Regions from separate parts of the Homo sapiens genome. Here all the other regions are linked to region 4. The links are contacts of gene promoters, found by promoter capture Hi-C in blood cells and fetal thymus (Javierre and others, 2016). All regions are on one chromosome and are shown on one strand. Each heading gives the region's core, a stretch centred on a gene start or on the middle of the fragment in contact. The rest is flanking DNA. Distances are from core to core; before and after follow the strand shown. Region 1 overlaps DTYMK (deoxythymidylate kinase). Region 2 overlaps D2HGDH (D-2-hydroxyglutarate dehydrogenase). Region 3 overlaps ING5 (inhibitor of growth family member 5). Region 4 holds the start of PASK (PAS domain containing serine/threonine kinase). Region 5 overlaps CAPN10 (calpain 10).

Region 1 (2,700 bases), core at 153-2,652, 530 kb after region 4:
GCCAGGCATGATGGCACGTGCCTGTAATCCCAGCTACTCGGGAGGCTGAGGCAGGAGAATCACTTGAACCCAAGAAGCGGAGGTTGCAGTGAGCTGAGATCGTGCCATTGCACTCCAGCCTGGGTTGGCACCCAGAGCAAGATTCTGTCTCAAAAAAAAAAGAATTTGCTGGCACCGAGAACCCCTGAACGACTACTCCCGGGGCTCCACATCTGGGAGGACCAGACGGAAACGGCAGCAGCTTTGCTGACACAACTGTGCCAGCCACCACGGTGTCATCCTGAGCCACTTCTCCACGCTTCCTAGTGTGCAATTCTGGGATTCTCACCTTCCAGTTCAAAGTCGTGTCTTTCATGAGCTGGTGGAAACACCGGAGCGCCCGCTCCTGGAAAGCCCCGTTCTCATAGCGCTCATGGCCAAACGCTCCCCGCTTGGCAGCATCCGCCAGCTGTAACTGGAGGAACAGGACCAGGTCGGGTTTGGGAAGGCCCACGTCTGGCTGTTTACACCAATCTAGGGAAAAATTCTGCCAAGAAAGAACCCAACAGTTAAAGCTTAGTGTAGTCTAGGTTTTTGTTTCGAAAGTCGTAAAAACAGGAAAAAATGAGGGGACATTTGGTGAGGTACCAAGATGTGAGACTGTTTATATTGTGGCTCGTTTAATTTTTAGAACCTCAAACGTGTCGGTTTCTCCAGTGTCACCTTTGTTTTTCCTTTGTAAACAGACAAGTGGACAGAAAAGTAGGTAGATAGAACGGCTGCCAGTCCCCGCCACCCACAGCCCAGGCCCCATGGAGGCCCTCCCAGCACAGCTACAGGCCTGCTGGCCAGGAGCAAACAGTCTATGTACAGAACCCCTGGAGACCCCCGGCCTAGAACGCCTGCAGCACAGAGCAGCTGGGTCCGGACACAGGCACGAGGTCCTTGGCAGTGTCTTTTCTGCCACACACACGCCAGGGTCTCCTCTCCCGTGGAAGAGCAGGAAGAAGACAGGCACTCCTAGAGCCTGTTATGTGCCAGCCTAGTCTCATCCACTGGCCCTTCTTGCCAGGGCTGTGCCAGCACCCTCTCTCCCTCCCTTACTCATCCCATCTCCCTCCAAATGCTGTCCTGTTTCCGGAGGAAAGGTAGGACCAGAAAGGCTGTGACTGCAGGCCACACATCACACAACAGCACAATGAGCTGAGGGAAGGCGTCCACGAGAACCTCCCACAGAGCCTGCGGCTCTGTCAGCTGATCCGCACAGCAGGAAGAAGCAAAGGAATCATGAGTCTTGTCCTCCTTATTATACAACGTAATACTTCAGAGGGGAAGGACTCAAGCTAACACATGAAGAAATGGCAGAATTAAAAAGTGAGGGCGTGGCCGGGCACGGTGGCTCGCGCCTGTAATCCCAGCACTTTGGGAGGCTGAAGCGGGAGGATCACTTGGGCCCAAGAGTTGTTATAGCGAGCTTTGCTTGTTCCACTGTACTCCAGCCTGGGCAACAGAGGGAGACGCCCTCTTTCAAAAAACGGGGGAAAAAAGTACTACAAATGAACCATCTTTGAAAATGCATCTGGAGGCTGGGTGCAGTGGCTCATGCCTGTAATCCTAGCACTTTGGGAGGCTGAGATGAGTGGATCACTTGAGGTCAGGAGTTTGAGACCAGCCTGGCCAACATGGTAAAACCCCGTCTCTACTAAAAGTATGAAAATTAGCTGGGCACGGTGGTGCATGCCTATAATCCCAGATACTCGGGAGACTGAGGCAGGATAATCGCTTGAACTCAGGAGGCAGAGGTTGCAATGAGCTGAGATCGTGCCACTGCACTCCAGCCTGGGTGACAGAATGAGAGACTGTCTCCCCAAAAAAAAAAAAAAAAGCGTGTGGAAAATATAATCCAAATACCAACTATGGTTCTATCTGTGAAACAATCTCTAGCTACATAAATGTTTGCTCTTCTTATTGATAAAACCAAATTAATCTAGCAAAGAGATAAAAGGAATATAAGAATCACGAAACTCTGCAGAGTAATCTGAGGCATGTCACTCGTACTCGCATTCAAGGGCAGTCCTGGGTCCACACATCTGTGCTCGCCTGACAGGAGGCCAAGTGGCACTCACCTCCTTGGCACCGGTGAAGGCCACACCAGAAAATGCGTATCTGTCCACGACGAGGGTCACGCCCTGGCTCAACTTTTCCTTAATTAACGGCCTGAAAAAGAGGATGCTCCTGAGCCCTGGTCCTGTTTCATAGGCCTTGAACTGTCAAGCTTAAATTATCCCAACAGGCTGTGCGCAGTGGCTCACCCCTATAATCCCAGCGCTTTGGGAGGCTGAGGCGGGCGGATCACAAGGTCAGGAGATCGAGACCATCCTGGCTAACATGGTGAAACCCTGTCTCTACTAATACAAAATATTAGCTGGACATGGTGGCAGGCACCTGTAATCCCAGCTACTCGGGAGGCTGAGGCAGGAGAATTGCTTGAACCCAGGAGGTGGAGGTTGCAGTGAGCCGAGATCACACCACTGCATTCCAGCCTGGGTGACACAGCGAGACTCCATCTCAAAAAAAGAAAAAGAAAATTATCCCAACAATACAACTCAGAAATCTCATATGACAACAAGTACAGCACAGTGATTTGTAACCTTACTTTTAATCCAAAAAGGTCTGGATCTTCTCTAGAAGATGCCATACCCACACCTCCAGCAAAACCCA
Region 2 (2,700 bases), core at 201-2,700, 590 kb after region 4:
GGCCCTAGGCAGATGACCCTCAGTGCCTGCCCTACAAAATGGGACTTGGAGCCACTGCCTCAGGAACACCGTGCGGGTAAGTGGGGCAGGAACCTAGCGTGAGCCTTGAGCACAATGCTTGGGTTCCCGTGCTCCCAGCCTGCTCGGAGGCCAGCACCCTGGGCTATGCCGCTGCTGCCCTCATGGGCAAGGGACCTCCCCGGGGCATGCAGGAGCGGGGAGGAAGCTGTAACTGAGATTGAGGGGTGACCACGCTCTTCCTCTCCTCTGCCTTGCCTGAGCCTGACTGGGCAAGAACTGGCTGTCCCCCTGGGTCCCCGCTCTCTGGTCAGCACCTTTTTGGGAATCCGTGGCCATGGACACCCTGTCCTGCTGCAGGGCCGCCCCTCGGTGTCTGTGTGTGCCTGTGGGAGGGCGCCTTCCTCTGCGTCCTGCTGCCCCGAGTTTGGTGAGGGCGAGGCTGAATTTCACTCATGTTTGAGTCCACAGGTTTGGTCCTGAATGTCTGCTCAGTAGGTGTTTGCTGATGTGAGGCTTAGTTGTTGAATTTTAGGTGAATTATCCCTTCATGTGGCTTGCTTTTGGAGAGAGAGCTTGTCTAGACTTCTGAAAACTCATTAAGCATCATATTCAAAAATCTAGACCATTTGCTCAGGATGGATGCTGCAGACGTTTAGTGAGCACGCCTGCACTGGCAGGAAGGTGGGAGCTTCGCGGTGTGAAAACAGGCTGGGCCCCTGTGTCACCTCTGGCGGCCTTGCCCCCATGGCCCCCTCCGTCTTTGTGGGGCTCCCATCGTTAACACTGGACCACCGGGAGGGAGCCCTCCTTTTCATCTTTCCCGTTAGAAGGTAAACATCACAGGAGTGGGAAATTCTGTGCTCATTCTGTGTCTGGAACGCGGCCTGGCCTGCATTCTTGGGGGGTACTCATGTTTGTGTTGAGAACCCTGCCACAGGCGCGTCACAAGTGTGTCCGAGTCGAAAGCTTTGCCATGAGTCCTGGGGCTCCTGAGCCCACTCGGGACAGGGACGCAGTGAGCGCAGGTGCCAGGGTTCCCTCAGGTGCCGCACTGAAGTGTCGGGCCGAGGCCCAGGTGCCCAGCAGGCCCCTCTGCAAAAATTGCTCATTTGATGAAAGAGACATAAGTGGCTTTCTGATCAGAAAAGCAAGGTGGACACCACAGCCTGGTTCTCAGAGCTCCACGAAGAGGTGACAGGCTCCCGTGACTGCACCTGCTGCCTCTCTGCAGCCCCCATCACCTGGGAAAGTCGTCTCAAGGAAACCCAAAGGCAGAAAGACGCCTGCTCACTTGGGGCAGCAGTGGTTAGCAACACCGGCGAACTAGCTCAGAGGGCTCCCACTGGTCACATCCAGGCATTCAGCAAATAAGGCGGCCAAGACTTATAGCCCAGTGAATAAAGTGAGAAGCCGAGAGCCCACATCACTGTGAATAAGCAGCTACATAAACACGTCAGTGAGAGCGAAGGGAAAGCCCTCCCTCGTGGCAGAGTCAGCTAAGAGGCCGGGCGCGGCGACTCATGCCTGTAACCACAGCCCTTAGGGAGGCTGAGGTGGGTGGATTGCTTGAGGCCATGAGTTCAAGATCAGACTGGGGAACATGGTGAAACCCTGTTTCTACTAAAAATATCAAAATTAGCCGGGCATGGTGGCAGGCACCTGTAGTCCCAGCTGCTTGGGAGGCTGAAGCAGGAGGATCGCTTGAGCTCAGGAGGTTGAGGCTGCAGTGAGCTGTGATTGTGTCACTGTACTCCAGACTGGGTGACGGAGTGAGACCCTGTTTCAAAAGAAATAAAAGGAAGTGTAGGTGGACAGATGGATTTAGGAAAATCACCAGTTGGCAACCATCCTAGTAACTGATTTGGTCTAGGATAATCAAAGATGTTAATGGGTGAAGCTTGAGGAGCAACAGGATGTCCACATAGTCTCAAGCGTCTGCTTGTGAGGTGCACACACATCACGAAAGGAAGTGTGGTGGCGTGGCAGGAGGGAAGCCTGCAGACATCCCGTTACCGTGGGACCGAGCCGACCTCACCACAAGTGGGTGGGCAACCTTGGAGCTGCCAATGCCTGGCCTGTGGGACTCTCATCCATGGGCCCAGCCTTACCCACTTCTGCACACTGTGCCCAGTGCCCGGCCCACCACCTCCCATGTGGGACCTAGTTTTGGTTTTTTTGAGATGGCTTCTTGCTCTGTCACCCAGGCTGGAGTGCAGTGTTGCGATCATAGCTCACTGCAGCCTTGACCTCCTGGACTCAGATGATTCTCCCTCCTCAGCTTCCCAAATAAGATCACTCTCTGGGGGCTGGGCATGGTGGCTCATGCCTGTAATCCCAGCACTTTGGGAGGCCGCAGTGGGCGGATCACGAGGTCAGGAGTTCGAGACCAGCCTGGCCAATGTGGTGAAACCCTGTCTCTACTAAAAATACAAAAATTAGCCAGGTGTGGTGGCGGGTGCCTATAATCCCAGCTACTTGGGAGGCTGAGGCAGGAGAATCGCTTGAACCTGGGAGGGAGAGGTTGCAGTGAGCCAGGATCGTGGCACTTCAGCCTGGGCAACAGAGTGAGAGTCCGTCTCCAAAAAAAAAAACTCGCTCTCTGGGGCGAGTGACCACTTGCCTCATCTGCAGCTCCCCCCACGCTGTCTCATAGGATCTTCTTCCTGTCACAGGCTGTAG
Region 3 (2,700 bases), core at 32-2,531, 570 kb after region 4:
CACGCCATGGCGCTCCCTCAGGCGAGACTGAGAGGCCAGTGAGGCCTGCACGGTGGCCTCAGCTTCTGGGGTGCCCTTGCTGGGCGGTCCCCTCAGGCCCCCGGCCCTCTCCCACAGCCATCAAATCTGGCCAGCGCCCTCGAACCTGGTGATGCTGAGACACAGGTCAAGTGGCAGCTCAAGATGTCAGGTCGGGCTTTGTGGACAGAATTGGACTCGGCGCAGAAGAGGAGGGCGTCAGCGTTTCGGGGACGGTTGGCAGCAGAGGGTGCTGCCCTGCTCTCCGCGGGTGAGAGGTGACTCGAGGAGACCGCAGGAGCCCCTTGGAGGTGAAGCCACAGGTGGCATCCCGGAATCGGCAGGAGGCTGAGACGTAGACCCTTGCGTGCTGCTGTCAGAGGAGAGACCCGAAGACTACTTGAGACTGTTGCTTGAAAGCAGTGTCGGCAGCACCTGGACCTGGACTTGTGACGCTGATGGATTTCAGCTCTAAAGAGAAACCCCTGTCTATTCCCAGACAGAGAGAAAGAGCAGAAGAGCAGATTACCTGCAAAGGACAGACTTAGGTGGGCGCCCCTGTGCCAGAGGGCAGCGGGGAGGCCGGGTGCATGCTGAGCCCGAGTGTGTGTGTATGTGTACAGGCAATTGCAAAGGCGTAGAAAAGCTTTAGACAGGTATCCAAGGAAAAGCTGAGTGTTGATTCCCTCTGGGACCCAGACTTCTGCTCCTTGGCTTTCCCTGATCGTGACTGTTTTTCTCACGGCCACGTTCCTCCTGCTAACCTGCTGTGTTTACATACCAACTAGATATTCGTGGGTTGGAGGGTGGGATAGGGAAGATACTTTTTCTTTCTGTACTAATGGGAATACACTGTCTATAGTACCTGCAGCTTGTAAGTTTATTTGAAAAATACTGAAATATAAAAGCGTAAATTTCCCCCTAAGTGCATCCCTTTCAAACAGGAAAGTCTCCACCTGAGGTCTGTGGTCCTGGTGGGACGGCCATGGTGCTACAGGTGGCAGGCTTGGAGGGAGGCATAGACGGGGTGGAACACCTGCCAGGCTGCTGTGTAGAAACCCACGTGGGAGCTGATGGGGATGAAGGAGTGACAAGGATGGTGTGTGGTCGGAAGGGGCCCTGTGCCAGGTGGACAGCTGGGTGGGTGGTGGGCGGTCCAGGGAGTGTGTGGGGAGCTGCTGGTTGAGTCAGTATTGGGGCAGAGGTGCCTGAGTAGGTGCGTGGAGGGCCCGGGCGCAGGACGCATGGCTGTTCTCTTGGGAGGAGGTCACAGTTACGGGAGAGCTGTTGACTGTGCGGGCTGCTCTGACACCTGTCAGTCTGGAGTGGGAGGCTGGCAGGCTTCTCTCAGGTGTCAGCCGTCTGCTGGCAGAGGTGACGTGTGCTTGTTTCCAAAGGGGCCGGGGTCTTTGGAGGGATGGCCCAGAAGTGGGTTGAGTCCAGAGGTCCCCGGGGGAGTCCTGTCTGGGAGGAGGGACCGAGATGAGAGTGGACTCGTCCCCAGAGTGGGACCAGAACCCCGGTGCTGTGGGTGAGTGCTGCGCTTCACGGCCTCCTGGGGGCCCTCTGTGCCCCCATGCCCCTGCCTGGGCCCGAAGGTGGGCGCGAGGTCTCCACCCCTCTGCTGCCAGCTGCTGCTGTTCCTGGATTTTTGTGGGTAACTGTTCTTTCTAGCATCAGCTGACAATCTGTTCGTATACTTAATGATTTTCTTGCTGCGCCTTCTTAGAACATTGCGTGTTCAGAGGGGTTATTGAGGTTTTGAAAATGTGTGCTCCAGGAAGAAAACGTCCACAAGGTGTGTATTCAGTTAGTGCATGACTGCAGTGGCTGGCCCTGGAGTCGCATTCATTTCTAAAGGACAATGGGAAAAATGGAAGCAAGCTTATTCATTATGTGTCGCTCAGAGCACGGTACCAATTTCCCCCTTGGAATGATTGTCTTCACAGTTTTGGGGTGAGGGGGCCTTAAGTCAGAGACAGAAGGGCCCGTGGTGTCCGTGCCGCCTCACTTCCCACCATGGCCTTCAGTGGTGCCTGTGCCCTGTCCCCTGCAGGTCTGAGTTCACTGACACCATCCTGTCCGTGCACCCCTCTGATGTGCTGGACATGCCCGTGGACCCAAACGAACCCACGTACTGCCTGTGCCACCAGGTCTCCTATGGGGAGATGATTGGCTGTGACAATCCAGACGTGAGTGTCGCCTGCAGGATTCGCGCCATGGGGCGGGGTCTTGTGTGGGGCAGGGCTGGCGGATGTTGGCATTTCTTGTGTTTTGCATACAGAACATGAGGCGTGTTGACTGCGGTTTCTCCCTTTACTTTGCAGTGTCCAATTGAGTGGTTTCACTTTGCCTGCGTGGACCTTACCACGAAACCCAAAGGAAAATGGTGAGTGTGGGGACGCTCGCTCTGTTTTCTCCCAGTCTGCTGGGTGTTGCGCTGCTGGCCTCCCCAGGAGAAGGTGCTCCATGGCAGAATCTTGCCGGGCTTAGCGGGACACGGTAGCCACGTAGGCATGCCCCACTGTGGCCTCAAGGAGTGTGGCTGGCTGGTGGCTGCTCTGGGTGTGGCTTTATCCCCCCTTTGCTGCTGTGCCTGTCCGAGCTGGCAGAGGGATGCCGTCACCCAGGAATGGTGGTTACCAGGTTACGTGATATTCACGTTAATGGCCCCTCCTGAAG
Region 4 (2,700 bases), core at 131-2,630:
CAGGCCCAAATTTTTAAAATTGTCCTTTGTATCCACTGTGAGCTGCAGACACGGGAACCCAAACCCAGCAGACAGCACCTAATGGTGCCACCGAGTAACCATATTCCCATTGCTAGTTTTGATTCCAGAAGACACAAGTGACCCCACCTCAGACCAAACAGAAGCAAGGACAACTTTGCAGGGAGCATCTCGGCGAACTTCTAGAAGCAACTGTCCCCCTCCCACCAGAACATAAGCTAAGAAGCAAACAGCTCCCATTGCTGTCAGCACAGCTGTACAACAAAAAGGAGAACCAGTTTCAGGATGAGGCCAACAAGGTGAACAGTGCAGTAGAACACAGCAAGGATGTCAGTCCTGGAGGAGGCACCTGCAGAGCCGGGCCCTACCAAGCAGAGTGAAGAAGTCTTTCAGAGGCAAAGCCTCCCAGAGAGGAGTTCAGTACCCAGAAGAGTAGGTGGACGTGGGCCTGGAAGGGCCAAGCATGAGCCCAGAGCCTCCTATGCCTGCCCAAAGTCTTAATTTTATCCCCAAAATGAACTTTTAAGGATTCAATGCTTAGGAGTAACATGGCCAGATATGCATTTTACAAAGATTACTCCAGGGACCATGTCGGTGCAAGGCTGGAAAGCAGGAGAAAGGCTACAGTAATCCAGGCAAGAAATTATAAAGTCTTAAATTAAGGTAGCAGCAGAAAGATGAAGAGAGGGAACCCCTAAGAGAAAAATGGACATCGAATGGTACTGAGATGCGGAAGGTAAGGACGAGAAAGGCCTCAAGACGGCAGCGCAGGCCCCTGCCGTACTCTGGGAAAGAAAAATTAGTGAAAAAATTAAGGCTCAAGTCCAGGTCTTTGCTGTAACCACGAGCGCCGGCGGCGCGCGCCCCCGACCCCGCGGCGCCGGCTGAGCCCGCAGGGACCCACACGCCCAGTGCAGGAGGCTGGCGGGATCCGGGCTGGTTCTCCTGGAGCTCGCCCCGCAGGGCCGGCTGCGGTGAAGAGAGCGCAGGGTCCCGAGGCGACCCGAGGCGCGGGGCCTCGGCGCCCACCGGGCAGGCTACACTGAAGGGCACCCCGAAGACGCTGGGGGCGCGGGGCCCAGGGCCAACGGCCGCAACCCCGCCGCGATTTGGGCACGGAGAGGACGCGGGCTCGGCGGTGCGCGAAGGGCGACGGGCGCAGGGGCGGGAGACCCGGGGTCGGGCTGGTCTAAGAGTCGGGCGGCGGATCCTCCTGGGCCAGGGGCGCGGAGCCGCGCAGGCCCCACAGCCGCCCTGGGGAGATGGCGGAGCCCGGCCCGCTCTCCCGAGCGCAGGTATCTCACCTGGATCAGGCGAGGGTCACGCCAAGCCGGCTACACACCACGGAAAGGAGCCCTTCCGCGCTTTTATCCCACCGACCAATCGCACAGCGACTAGCACCGATTGACAAGCTCCACGGACCAGCCACTTGCGCGTATGGGCGGGACTAAGCTAGCCAGAGTCTAGAAGCCCGCGCTAAGGGTTGCTAGGGACGCACCAAACACCCCTACGGCGCTTCGGAGGAGCCAAAGGAATAATGGGCGCCTCCGCCCCCGGGCCGGGCAGATGCGGTTTCCTCCCGACTCGCGATCAAAATGGGTGAGTAGCGCAGAGCTCGCCTCTTGGAGGCCTCTTTCTGAAGGCGGAGGACGCGGGGCGGCTCGTTCATGGGCCGGGTGGCTCCGCAGGGTAGACGAAGGCTGCAGCGTCCGCACTGGGCTGGGAACGACTTGCAAGGGGAGCCCAGCTGGCGCCCCGGAGCCAGCCAGCTGGCTAGCGGCCCCACCAGCGCAAGTGCCCCGCACCTGCCCGCCTGCTCCGAGCGTCAAGAGAAGGCGGCATTTCGCATGGGTAAAATCCGCGCGGGGACGCCGGGAGAATGTTGTTGCTCTTGCCGTTCGGCCCATTGTACAGACGCAGCCAGCGAGGCTCGCAGAGGTCAGGGATGCACGTAGGACTGGCCCGCACCTTGCAGCCACGGAAAGATCCGCCTGGCCCGCGGCCCCTCCACGCCTCCGAGGTCGAGACAGTGACATAAGTCAACTCTCAAGCCCAGGGCGTCTCTCCACTCTGCCTAGACGTCCACTCCGTCTGCCTGCAGCTACGGCTCTGTGCGTCCCGCTTCGACTCCCTCTGCTTTCCTTCCCAGCTTCTCGCCTCCAGACTGTTCCGGCTCCGCCGCCTGAAATTACCTGCTCTGGGGGAGGCGCGGCGCGCGGCCTCATGACGGAACTACAACTCCCATGAGGCGCTGGGCCCACGCAGGCGCGGCGCGGCTGAAGTCGCCGCGCCGGAATCCCATTGGCAGGGCCGGCTCTGAGGCGGGAGCCCTGATTGGCTGAGGGGTCTGAGGCGACAGATTCCGGAAAGGGGAAGAGCAGCCAACATGGCGGCGGAACGCGGCGCGGGGCAGCAACAGTCGCAGGAGATGATGGAGGGTGAGCGGCCCCTGCGGGCGGCGGCCCAAGGGCCCAGCGGGCGGGGGGAGCTGCGGGCTGGAACTGCTCCGTGCCTGAGAGAAACTCCACGTCCTGCCTCTGGCCGCCGCCGCGCGGCCCCCTGACAGCTGACAGCCGGACCCGGGGGAGCGGGGGAGGCGCTGGACCTCGGGGGAGCCCCGGCCCGGGGGCGGCAGCGGCCGGGAAGGACCCAGAGCTAGGGGGAGAGCGGCGGCGCGAGGCC
Region 5 (2,700 bases), core at 80-2,579, 550 kb before region 4:
AATAGGGCAGACATCATCACGGGCTCGGGCAGCAGTCCTGGGAAGACGCATCCAGAGGCGTGAAGTTCCTCTGGGAAAAGAGAGGGCTCCAGGGTGGCCGCTGCCCAGAAGGCCCTGTGCTGCAGAGCTGCTTCGGGTGTGGGAGGGGCTGCAGAGCTGGGGCACGGGGTTGCTGGCAGGAACTCAGGGCTCTCTGGGTCCCCTCCAGGCTTCCCCCCAGCCTGCCGGCAAGTTGACACTACCAGTTCTCGGGAGGGGCTTCTGCTGAGATGAGGTTTCTTCCAGGGGTGAAGGGTGGAGCCAGGTAGATGCAGCGGTAGCATCTGAGCTCCTGTCCCAGCTCCAGGAAGGGGAGTTCTGGGTGGAGGAGGAGGAGTTCCTCAGGGAGTTTGACGAGCTCACCGTTGGCTACCCGGTCACGGAGGCCGGCCACCTGCAGAGCCTCTACACAGGTAGTGCCCCGAGGGGCTGTGCTGGGCACGTGCTCTGCCTGCCGAAGTGAGGAGGCTGGGCAGGTGCCTGGGTTCCCCCTGCCCAGGCCCAGTTTGGTTCTCTTCAGCGTGGAGAGATGATTCTGTCCCAGGAGCCGGGAGGAGGGTGATGATTCTGTCCCAGGAGCTGGGAGGAGGGTGGGCTTGTGGGAGGGGCTGGCTCTGTCTGTGGCCGTAGCTGCTGCTTAGACCCTGCCAGGGTTCATGAGGCCACCATGGCGGGAGGCCAGCGAGGAGCCGTGTCCCACAGCTGATGCCTGGTGTTTTCTCACTAGAGAGGCTGCTCTGCCATACGCGGGCGCTGCCTGGGGCCTGGGTCAAGGGCCAGTCAGCAGGAGGCTGCCGGAACAACAGCGGCTTTCCCAGCAACCCCAAATTCTGGCTGCGGGTCTCAGAACCGAGTGAGGTGTACATTGCCGTCCTGCAGAGATCCAGGCTGCACGCGGCGGACTGGGCAGGCCGGGCCCGGGCACTGGTGGGTGACAGTCATACTTCGTGGAGCCCAGCGAGCATCCCGGGCAAGCACTACCAGGCTGTGGGTCTGCACCTCTGGAAGGTAACTCAGCCCCGTCTGGCTCACGCTCGGTTCAGCAGGTGGTGTGGAGGCCCATGGAGGTCTGGGTTCTAGGACTGGCTCTGCCGGGACACATGTGACTCTGCCACGGGCCCCACCAGTCTCCCCCCTCCTTGGGCTGTTGCACGGGGTTGACGTCTGCTGGTGCTCCCAGACCCGGCTCTGACCTGAGACTGCAGGTCTTTCTGCCTTGCCGTGTGCCTCATTGGCCAAAGGAAAGCAACAGAGTCTGCAGCCAGGGCAGGACCCGCAGGAGGGGCCTGGACCCGGGGGGCTCCTGGCAGCGCCGTGCCTTTCTGAGGCAAGGAGGTAGAGCCAGCGGCTGAGGACCTGTCAGGGCCAGTCCCAGCTCTGCAGCTTGCTGTGTGACCTGGCACACATCCTCTCCCTGCCTCCCTCAGTCTCTTCCCCTGCAAGACGGGGTCCTGACACGGATCTCATGGGATTGCTCTGAGGCCCAGGCAGTCCCAGGCTCAACCACTGGTTCACAAAGTGTGTTGTTTCCAGGAAGAACAGATGGGGGCGCCTGAGGGCAAAGGGCCTGAGTGTGGGTCGAGGATATGCCGGCTGCTCGCTCAGGGGCTGGGTTTTCATCTTGTGTGTCTTGACAGGGTGTGACACTTGGCACCACACTGTTCCCTGTCCCTTCATGGATGTGGCCCACATGATGTTCCTTTCCTCTTGCAAAAGAAGTTGCTGGAAGGCCCACTGTCCAGCAGCCCCCAGGTTGCCTGGGCCACGGTGCCTTTGTGGGCCCAGCTACAAGGAGGACTTGCAGGCTCGTGTCTGGGACAGATACTGGCGCCAGGGCCAAGTGAAGCCCGGGATTGGTGGGCATCTCTAGCTGGTCCCTGAGAGAGGGTGGAGGGTGCTGACAGGCCTTGGCGCTTTCATCTGTCAACTCCAGAGGCCCTTGTGCTTGCAGCAGGGAGGTCAAGGCCAGGGCGTCTGACCCCGGCCGCTCCTCCACACTGAGCCTCCTGCACGTGCTCACAGGTAGAGAAGCGGCGGGTCAATCTGCCTAGGGTCCTGTCCATGCCCCCCGTGGCTGGCACCGCGTGCCATGCATACGACCGGGAGGTCCACCTGCGTTGTGAGCTCTCACCGGGCTACTACCTGGCTGTCCCCAGCACCTTCCTGAAGGACGCGCCAGGGGAGTTCCTGCTCCGAGTCTTCTCTACCGGGCGAGTCTCCCTTAGGTGAGAGGAACCGCGCAGTGCTGCTGGCTCTCCGAGGCCACAGGCCCTTCCAAGGCAGGATTTGGGCACTTTCCCTCTGTGGTTGGCAGGTGTCCATGTGGGAACTGAGGCCACCGGGAACCTGCTGCCAGCGCCCTCCCATGTTTGTCTTCTTGGCAGCGCCATCAGGGCAGTGGCCAAGAACACCACCCCCGGGGCAGCCCTGCCTGCGGGGGAGTGGGGGACCGTGCAGCTACGGGGTTCTTGGAGAGTCGGCCAGACGGCGGGGGGCAGCAGGAACTTTGCCTCATACCCCACCAACCCCTGCTTCCCCTTCTCGGTCCCCGAGGGCCCTGGCCCCCGCTGCGTCCGCATCACTCTGCATCAGCACTGCCGGCCCAGTGACACCGAGTTCCACCCCATCGGCTTCCATATCTTCCAGGCAAGCTCCTTGCCC

What was found. Contacts are between HindIII fragments. The CHiCAGO score rates a contact against its expected background, and 5 or more counts as called.
Region 1: a contact is called between a fragment that was not itself captured here and the fragment with the promoter of PASK in region 4, in 1 of 17 cell types (neutrophils). The highest score is 7.1, in neutrophils.
Region 2: a fragment that was not itself captured here is called in contact with the fragment with the promoter of PASK in region 4 in 1 of 17 cell types (neutrophils); the score reaches 6.0 in neutrophils.
Region 3: a fragment that was not itself captured here is called in contact with the fragment with the promoter of PASK in region 4 in 1 of 17 cell types (neutrophils); the score reaches 7.0 in neutrophils.
Region 5: a contact is called between a fragment that was not itself captured here and the fragment with the promoter of PASK in region 4, in 1 of 17 cell types (neutrophils). The highest score is 5.2, in neutrophils.

The regions. Positions count from the first base shown.
Region 1 is chr2:241,678,124-241,680,823 of GRCh38, forward strand. It overlaps DTYMK (deoxythymidylate kinase), which reads right to left. Exons shown (of 5, transcript NM_012145.4): 3 at 2,106-2,196; 4 at 329-526. Among named protein-coding and RNA genes, the nearest start is that of DTYMK, 7.3 kb to the right of the region's middle. The HindIII fragment of the contact is 1,700 bases long and covers 553-2,252 here.
Region 2 is chr2:241,738,340-241,741,039 of GRCh38, forward strand. D2HGDH (D-2-hydroxyglutarate dehydrogenase) reads left to right here. Exons shown (of 10, transcript NM_152783.5): 3 at 2,694-2,700. Among named protein-coding and RNA genes, the nearest start is that of D2HGDH, 5.1 kb to the left of the region's middle. RefSeq lists an enhancer at 1,207-1,306. The HindIII fragment of the contact is 931 bases long and covers 986-1,916 here.
Region 3 is chr2:241,720,865-241,723,564 of GRCh38, forward strand. ING5 (inhibitor of growth family member 5) reads left to right here. Exons shown (of 8, transcript NM_032329.6): 6 at 2,075-2,210; 7 at 2,346-2,407. Among named protein-coding and RNA genes, the nearest start is that of D2HGDH, 12 kb to the right of the region's middle. The HindIII fragment of the contact is 1,238 bases long and covers 663-1,900 here.
Region 4 is chr2:241,148,092-241,150,791 of GRCh38, forward strand. It overlaps PASK (PAS domain containing serine/threonine kinase), which reads right to left and starts at 1,381. Exons shown (of 18, transcript NM_015148.4): 1 at 1,323-1,381. It overlaps PPP1R7 (protein phosphatase 1 regulatory subunit 7), which reads left to right and starts at 2,376. Exons shown (of 10, transcript NM_002712.3): 1 at 2,376-2,456. The coding sequence starts at 2,405. RefSeq lists enhancers at 335-494, 2,008-2,167 and silencers at 748-797, 848-907, 968-1,327, 2,458-2,700. The HindIII fragment of the contact is 12,026 bases long and covers 1-2,700 here.
Region 5 is chr2:240,594,258-240,596,957 of GRCh38, forward strand. It overlaps CAPN10 (calpain 10), which reads left to right. Exons shown (of 12, transcript NM_023083.4): 6 at 286-452; 7 at 767-1,047; 8 at 2,062-2,264; 9 at 2,424-2,685. Among named protein-coding and RNA genes, the nearest start is that of CAPN10, 8.9 kb to the left of the region's middle. The HindIII fragment of the contact is 6,622 bases long and covers 1-2,700 here.